Linked DNA regions of Homo sapiens: all the other regions are linked to region 2. The links are contacts of gene promoters, found by promoter capture Hi-C in blood cells and fetal thymus (Javierre and others, 2016). All regions are on one chromosome and are shown on one strand. The core of a region is centred on a gene start or on the middle of the fragment in contact, and the rest is flanking DNA. Distances in the headings are between cores, read along the strand shown.

Evidence for each region. The method cuts DNA at HindIII sites, captures the fragments that hold promoters and counts their contacts. A CHiCAGO score of 5 or more calls a contact.
Region 1: a fragment that was not itself captured here is called in contact with the fragment with the promoter of HIRA in region 2 in 2 of 17 cell types (naive CD4 T cells and total CD4 T cells); the score reaches 7.3 in naive CD4 T cells.
Region 3: a fragment that was not itself captured here is called in contact with the fragment with the promoter of HIRA in region 2 in 1 of 17 cell types (total B cells); the score reaches 5.9 in total B cells.

Annotation. Positions count from the first base shown.
Region 1 is chr22:19,632,261-19,635,041 of GRCh38, reverse strand. No RefSeq gene overlaps it. Among named protein-coding and RNA genes, the nearest start is that of LINC00895, 67 kb to the right of the region's middle. The HindIII fragment of the contact is 5,938 bases long and covers 1-2,781 here.
Region 2 is chr22:19,430,315-19,433,102 of GRCh38, reverse strand. HIRA (histone cell cycle regulator) reads left to right here and starts at 1,370. Exons shown (of 25, transcript NM_003325.4): 1 at 1,370-1,663. The coding sequence starts at 1,627. MRPL40 (mitochondrial ribosomal protein L40) reads right to left here and starts at 558. Exons shown (of 4, transcript NM_003776.4): 1 at 496-558. The coding sequence starts at 548. RefSeq lists silencers at 484-793, 1,084-1,483 and enhancers at 1,768-2,515, 2,464-2,533, 2,774-2,788. The HindIII fragment of the contact is 6,181 bases long and covers 1-2,788 here.
Region 3 is chr22:19,283,139-19,285,838 of GRCh38, reverse strand. All of the region lies in intron 1 of CLTCL1 (clathrin heavy chain like 1), which reads left to right. Among named protein-coding and RNA genes, the nearest start is that of CLTCL1, 7.2 kb to the left of the region's middle. The HindIII fragment of the contact is 8,535 bases long and covers 1-2,700 here.

The DNA of each region.
Region 1 (2,781 bases), core at 103-2,602, 200 kb before region 2:
CATGATGATTAGGGCATAGTTTTCATCCATTTTACATTATTCGTCCTATTTTCTTTTTTCTTGTAATACACTTATAATCCTTTGCATAGGATTTGACCTTGAAATTTGCGTCCTTAAACTTAAAGGAGGGTGCCCCTTCTCTGCGGCCTGCCAGCATCTGTTGCGCTCCTCTGCTCGTTCTGCAGTCCGCCGTCTCCTTCTCCTTGCGTCCTCGTTCTCCTCTGCTTGGTGTTATCTTCCCCTCCCCATCCCGCTGCCATGTCCCCCAGTCTCCCCCAGCACTCCCCCCACCACACATGCCAACCCCTCATGGATTCGCCCCGAGGCCGCGGCCTCCCCTCACTAGGTTGTAAATTCCAACATGGGCTTTGGTTTCACTACCTGGGTTCTGGTTGCCCCCTCTATTTTTATAGAGAATTCAGGGGAAATCAAAATCAAAATCAATAACTTCCTCACCCTGCTCACCTTGTCAGAAGTTCCTCTTGCTTTCAAAAGGCTGTGCCCCTCCTCTGGGAAGCCCGGGGCTTAGGTCTTTAGTCTTTGGGATCGGCTGGGCTCCCGGGCCTGCAGCGGAACCTCTTCCCCTTGGTTTCCTGAGCTAGGAATGGTTGTGTGCCCGATGCCACTGCCTGAGGGTGCACGCAGAAAGCGCTGGGCGTTTGGAAGCTGGCAAGGGCCATTAAGTTTTGCTCACCACTGCCATTCAGTCATGATTTATCTACAAATACTGGCTCCTGAAGGACAGAATCCGTGTGTGTTAGTCTGCTGGGGCTGCCATGATGAAGTACCACAGGCTGGGCGCCTTAAACAACAGACACCTACTCCTTGCAGTCCTGGAGGCTGGAAGGGTTGGTCCTTCTCAGGCCTCTCTCCCTGGCTTGTCAATGGCCGTTCTCTCCCTGCGTTCTCACGGGGTCTTTCCTTTTCCTCTGTGCCTGTCTGGGTCCTAATCTCTTCTTCTCCTTCTTTGAGACAGGGTTTTGCTCTGTCATCCAGGCTGCAGCACAGTCGCATGATCGTAGCTCACTGCAGGGCTCAAATGATCCTCCCACCTCTGCCTCCCAAGTAGCTGGGACTACAGGCATAGTCCCAGGCTAATTTTTGAATTTTTTGTAGAGACAGGGTCTTGCTATATTGCCCAGGCTGGTCTTGAATTCCTGGGCTCAAGTGACCCTGCTACCTCAGCCTTCTGAGTAGCTGTGACTACAGATATACAAGACCACACCTGGCTAACTTTTTTTTGGTAGAAATGGGATCTCACTCTGCTGTTCAGGCTAGTCTCAAACTCCTGGGCTCAAGCGATCCTCCCATTTTGGCCTCCCAAAGCACTGGGATTATAGGCCTAATCTCTTCTTCTTATAAGAACACTTGCCATGACTTCTGGTGTGTGTTGCCAAGGTGCGGGCCTGGTGGGCCACAGGGGCAACATTATTGCCATCGTCCTCTCCCTCTGTCCCGGGGGTCGAGATGTCAGGACTCAGCTCTCCAGAGACGGAGGGCTGTCGTAACCTACTTGGGCTACTGGACAATGAGGAGATTCATGGCCCTGTGCAGCACCGTCACCAATTGCCTGGTGCAGCCCAAAGACCACCAATGTAAGGGCAGACCTGTGCCATGGAACACAGCCACTCCTTCCCAAGCCTCATGCTGACCCCAGGTCACTGGAGCCTGGGAGTGGAGGGGGTTCGGGGCCTAGAACCCAGTTAGTCTCAGACCCCGCTTAGGCAGAATCCTGGGGAATCCCTGCCACCATGGCAGATCCACTGCTCTGAAACTGATACGGAAATGCTGAGAAGGGAGAAGCATGGTCCCTTTAAATGATACGGAAGGGGGTAAGGGAAGTGCCAAGGGAAGTGCGGGTATAGGAGGGCGTTTTCTGACCCTGCTACCTCAGCCTTCTCAGTAGCTGTGACTACAGGTACACAACACCACACCTGGTTAATTTTTTTGGTAGAAACAGGATCTTATTGTGTTGTCCAGGCTAGTCTCAAACTCCTGGGCTCAAGTGATCCTCCCACTTTGGCCTCCCAAAGCAAAGACCGTTTCTTACTAAGGCTCCACCCCCACGGACCTAAGTGAGGACAGGCATTTCCTGCCTTACATTTTCCAAGACCGCTCTTGCTGCCACGCCCCATCGGGCGCCTATAAAAACCCAGACCCTAGCAAGGCAGAGACAGGAGCGGCTGGACGTGGAGAGGAGCACACTGGCGGAGGAATCCACAAGTGGCCGGCTGGCGAGAGGAATGCGCCCACAGGCACAGGCATGCCACTGATCGCGGAATGACGTGGAGTTTGGCCGGGAGTCGGAAGAGTGTCTGGGCCACCCAGCTGCCCCACTCCAGGGGAAAACCATCTGTCTTCTGGTTCCCCCATCTGCTGAGAGCTACTTCCACTCAATAAAACCTTGCACCCATTATCCAAGCTCATGTGTGATCCGACTCTTCCGGTACACCAAGGCAAGAACCCGGGATACAGAAAGCCCTCTGTCCACGCGACAAGTAGAGGGTCTAATTGAGCTGGTTAACACAAGCCGCCTATAGACAGCAAAACTAAAAGAACAAACAGTAGCATACGCCAACTGGGGCTTCAGCTGTAAACATTCATCTCTAGACCCTGCTGTGGGGCCTGAGCCCCACAACCTGCCCATCTGTATGCCCCCTCTAGCGGTGGGAGAAGCAGGACACAGAAGAAACGAGCCACACCCCCATCCCACACCCTGCAAGGCGGACAAAGGAACCTTTCCCGTTTCGGAACCACTACACAGGCTTAGGCAGCTGGGCC
Region 2 (2,788 bases), core at 121-2,620:
ATACAAAAATTAGCCGGGCGTGGTGTTGGGCGCCTGTAATCCGAGCTACTCGGGAGGCCGGGGCAGAACTGCTTGAACCCGGGAGGCAGAGGTTGCAGTGAGCCGAAATCGCGCCACTGCACTCCAGCCTGGGCGACAGAGCGAGACTCTGTCTCAAATAAATAAATAAATATCTGATTCTCTCCCACTTCACAGGAAAATAAAAAATTGCAATGCTCCCAAACCCGGGGCACTTCTAACTACTTGATATGACAGCAAGGTCAACGTGGAAGGTTTTTCAAAATCTTTCGTTCAGACCACAGAGGACTTAAGCAGGACCGCTGCTCGCCAGGGTGCTCAGATTTTCATGCATAAGAGTCACGACCAGATGGCTCATCCCTGAGATATTCGTGGACTGGGAGGCGAGCAGGGAGCACAGGCGAGTCCTGGCGGACAGTCGCGAAGACCCCGCACGCGCCCTGGGCACTCCGCTATCCGGCCAGCGTCCGCACTCACCCGCTAGTCGGGCGCAGGGCTAGCGAGATACTTCGCAGCACGGAGGCCGTCATGGCTACCCTCGCCGCTTCCGGGCGTGCGCCCCTCCACAGTCCGGCCCGCGGTGCCCCCTGCTGAGGTCCGGCAGACCAGGCGCCCAGCGCTCAGGCGTTCCGGCTGCGTGGGCTGGGACGCGCCTGTCCCCGCCCCCGACGCAGCCCCGCCTAGGGTGTCAGCTGCGCACACACGAGGGCCTTGCGTTTCACGCGGCTCGGGGTCCTCCCTTCCGTCCCCGCCCTGTGCTGGGAGCGCGCCTCTGCAGCGGGCACAGTCTAGCCAGTCAGGCCCTAGCCGGTTGGTCGGTCTGCGCCCTCGCGCGGGCCTCGGCTCCGCAGTGCAGCCGGAGCGGCCGAGGGGGCGTCCCTCTGCTCCTCCGAGTCCAAATGTTCATGTCTAGGCAAACGGCCCCGATCTTCTAATAAACGCGTCCGCCCCAGCCTCCCCCACCAGGGTTGGCTCGTCCCCCGCATTCGTTCGAGTCCGAAGCCCGGATCGCATTCCGGCGCCGGCGCGGAGCCCGGCGCTCGCAAGATGCCCAATAGCGCGTGTTGATGAATGACGGAAGCTAGTTAATAAGTCGGACTCAGACTGGCGAGGCAGAGCTGGTGACGGGCGGTCCACGCCACCTGGGCCCCGCCTGCCTCTGCGGGCGGCCCGGGTTGCAACTGCAGGCCCCGCTCGCTGTCCGCCGTCCAGGCGAACCGCCCTTTCTGGGGCGCCCGCGCCCGGGCCCGACCCGAAGCCCCTGCCAGCGGAGGAGCCGGGGCGGCCCAGTCCGCGTGGGGAGCGGTTTCCCGCCGGGGCGATTTGGCAGGTGCGCGCCGTGACTTCCGGCGTTGCCCGGGAGCCGCCTGAGGAGGAGCGGCGCAGGGGATGCGGCTGTGGTGGCGGCGGCGGCGGCCGAGCGCGGGTGGCGGCTGTGGCGGCGGAGGGGGGCGCGGGCCGGCGATGGCGCGGCGGCCCTGAGGGCGCGGGGCGGGCGGCGGCCGGAGGGCGGGTGGCGCGGGAGGAAGCGGCGGCGGTGGCTCCATGGCCCGGGCGCGCTGAGGGACCCGGCGCTCGCCTCAGCCCGGCGGCGGCGGCGGCCGAACAATGAAGCTCCTGAAGCCGACCTGGGTCAACCACAATGGTGAGTGCGCGCAGGGGTCGCGGGAGGCCGAGCCCGGAGTCGGGTCGGGGTCTGGAGTCGAGTCGGGGCGCGCGCAAGTCCTGCCTGTCTCGCCCCTGACGCCCGGTACCCGGTGCCCAAGCCAAGAAGCCGGCGGGAGCGGACTTTGTCCTCAGCGCGGAGAGGCTGGTGAGCCCCAGCACGTGCTCCGGGTTGACCGCAGCGAGGGCCATCTTCGCCCCTGGCTCTTGCTCTGAGTCTTCCGCTGCCCACCTGTGGTCCTTGGAGGGGCCGCGGCCTGGCTCCCAGGAGCGGGCCTTGGTGCCAGCCAGTGCCTTCCACTGGTCTGCATCGCCCGAGAAGTGCTCAGACGGTCCTGAAGGTGAAACCGGGATGAAATCCCCCTTGTGGCCTTTCAGTGGCAGGATGAAGATCCGAAATCTGCAAGAGGGACTGTTACTGCCCCTCTGGATCTGGGGACAGTGCCCCCAGTTGGGGAATTGTGGTCCCTAAATAGGAGGGTTTGGGGGCCCCGGGCCCCCGCGAAGGATCCACGATTAATGCTGAGCTGGGACATCAGGGTGAACTAGGGTTGGGCAGATAGGGCACAGGTGTGTTCTAGCAGAGGGGCTTCTTAGCTCTGTGGCAGTGGCTCCAAAGCACACCCTTGGGGAACGGACTCATCCACCCCATATCTTGACTCTGATACAGAGAGGCTAGTGGTAATCAGTTTCGTCATAGTTCTGCCTTGTTGGCAGAACTGCTGCAGGAGTTGGTGTTTGCTCCCCGGGTAGATGAAAAAAGCGCGCCTCCCCCTCCCCCACCCCACTCTGCTGACAGCACTGTAGCACAGAAATCAACCCAGGGAGACTCCTCCAGCCCAGGGCCTGATTCTGGCCTGTCTGACTGTTGACAGGCAAAGGGTCACCCTGATGCTGTCTTGTTCCTCATTTCTACTTTGCAGTGCGACTACAGGGTGCTACCGTTTTCTTTAGGAGCGAGAATAGATATTTTAACATGTGGCTTTTTCGTTTTGAATTTGGTCCCAGGATGCTCTCTACTACCACAACTAAACTGAACTGATCATGTGTGTGTTCTCCTCCTGCCACCTCTCTCTCCTTCCATCTTGTGTGACATCTTTCCCAT
Region 3 (2,700 bases), core at 133-2,632, 150 kb after region 2:
TATCAGTATTCCCTAGGGTAGTAGTTGCTGGCACCCTGTCACCCCCTTCTCTAAGGGGGAATCTTTCTGCAATCTGTCTGATTTTTCCTTCCTTTGCTTCTTCACTGAGACTTTACTGAGTTTGCAGGCTCTTCTCCCACATTTTCTTCCACTTCTCTTGAGGCCTGCTGCTGGCCTCCATGCCAGAGAGATGACCATCACTCTTGGCAGGCTGAAGAAGGATGCCACAAAGCTGGGATAGCAAAGTTCAGTGATGAAATTAGAATCGGATATATCTTGACAGGCCAGAATCCAGCTAGTTGACATTTAACTGGGATAAATATAGAGTCTTGTGCACTGGTGTTAAAATAAAGAAAACCTGTAATAGTGTAATTTGAGAGAAGTTCTGTAAAGCATTATATAAATGTAGTTAACTATCCCTGAACTAACCTACTCCTGGAATGTAAGTTCTGGAAGAGACCTTAGTGTCAACATTCTTCATAGGCCCTCATTTACAGAGCTCCCTCTTTAGGCTAGGAAAGGCTCTTTGGTAAGTTTCTTTTTCTTTTTCTTTTTCTTTTTTTTAAGATGGAGTCTTGTTCTGTTGCCCAGGCTGGAGTGCAGTGGCACAATCTCGGCTCACTGCAACCTCTGCCTCCAGGGTTCACGCCATTCTCCTGCCTCAGCCTCCCGAGTAGCTGGGACTACAGGCACCCACCACCACGTCCAGCTAATTTTTTATATTTTTAGTAGAGACAGGGTTTCACCGTGTTAGCAAGGATGGTCTCGATCTCCTGACCTTGTGATCCGCCTGCCTCGGCCTCCCAAAGTGCTGGGATTACAGGCGTGAGCCACCGCGCCCAGCGTGTTTCAAATATAAAATGTGTTTTTTATTTTATTTTCTTGAGACAGAGTCTCGCTCTGTCCACCAGGCTGGAGTGCAGTGGCATGATCTCAGCTCACTGCAGCCTCTGCCTCCCCGGTTCAAGCGATTCTCCTGGCTTCAGCCTCCTGAGTAGCTCGGACTACAGGTGCGTGCCACCATGCCTGGCTAATTTTTGTATTTTTAGTAGAGATGGGGTTTCACCATGTTGGCCAGGATGGTCTTAATCTCTTGACCTCGTGATCCGCCCACCTCAGCCTCCCAAAGTGCTGGGATTACAGGTGTGAGCCACTGCACCCAGCCCATTTATTTTTTTGAAACAGAGTTTCACTCTTGTTGCCCAGGCTGGAATGCAATGGCGTGGTCTTGGCTCACTGCAGCCTCCGCTTCCCGTGTTCAAGTGATTCTCCTGTTTCAGCCTCCCAGGTAGCTGGGATTATAGGTGCCCGCCACCACACCCAGCTGATTTTTGTATTTTTATAGAGATGGGGTTTCATTATGTTGGCCAGGCTGGTCTCCAACTCCTGACCTCAGGTGATCCACCCGCCTCGGCCTCCCAAAGTGCTGGTATTACAGGCGTGAGCAGCCACGCCAGGCCCTCAAAGTATGTTTTAAAAACTGTAGATGAACTAAATTTTACTGCCCTGAAACAAGTAATTTGTTTTACTATTTGTTTACCATCCATATGCTAGGCACAAGGATAAAGCAGTGAGTGAGACTGGGAAGGAGACAGATACAGAAAGAAAAAATATTGGTGTCCACATAGGTGTGAAAACATGGGGATGTTCAGTGCAACTTAAGCATTCTGGCTTCACTGATGTAGGCAGTTGATGTTCTCACTAATACTCTTGTACAAACACAGTTGTAGTCCTCCCAGGCAGACATCTTCCTTAAGCCCCTTATACATAGAAACCACAGGACTATCAGATGAGTAATTTCTTTTTGCATATTCCCCAGTGTCAGATTTTTTTTTTTTTTTTTTTTTGAGACAGGGTCTGTCTCTGTCACCCAGGCTGGAGTGCAGTGGCACAATCTTGGCTCATTCCAGCCTCTGCCTCCTGGTTTCAAGCGATTCTTGTTCCTCAGCCTCCTGAGTAGCTGGGACCACAGGCGTGTGCCACCATGCTCAGCTAAGTTTTTTATTTTTACTAGAGACAGGGCTTCACCATGTTGACCAGGCTGGTCTCGAATTCCTGACCTCCAGTGATCTACCCGCCTCGGCCTCCCAAAGTGCTGGGATTACAGGCATGAGCCACCATGTCTGGCCCCCATTGTCAGATTTGAATTTTGATTGATTTAATTGCAGGCTTTGAGAACTGAAAAGGATCATTAGACAGCATCTTCTTTACCTTTCTTTAGTTAAATCTTATATATGCCATTTAAAATGTGTAGCTAAGGTCCAGTGCAGTGGTGCATGCCTGTAATCTCAGCACTTTGGGAGGCCGAGGAAAGTGGATCACTTGAGACCAGGAGTTCAAGACCAGCCTGGCCAACATGGCAAAACCCTGTCTCTACTAAAAATACAAAAATTAGCCAGGTGCAGTGGCGGACACCTGTATTCCCAGCTACTTGGGAGGCTGAGGCATGAGAATCGGTTGAGTGTGGGAGGCAGACTTTGCAGTAAGCCAAGATTGCACCACTGCACTCCAGCCTTGGCGACAGAGCAAGACTCTGTCTCAAAAGAAAGAAAAAAAGAAAGAAAATTTTTTTAAAAATGTGTAGCTAGGTTACCTATCAGAATAATATACTAGGGATCAGGAATCCTTGGTTATTTCTACTAACTAGTGAAAAAAAAAACAAACCTGGGCCAGGCCCTGTGGCTCACGCCTATAATCCCA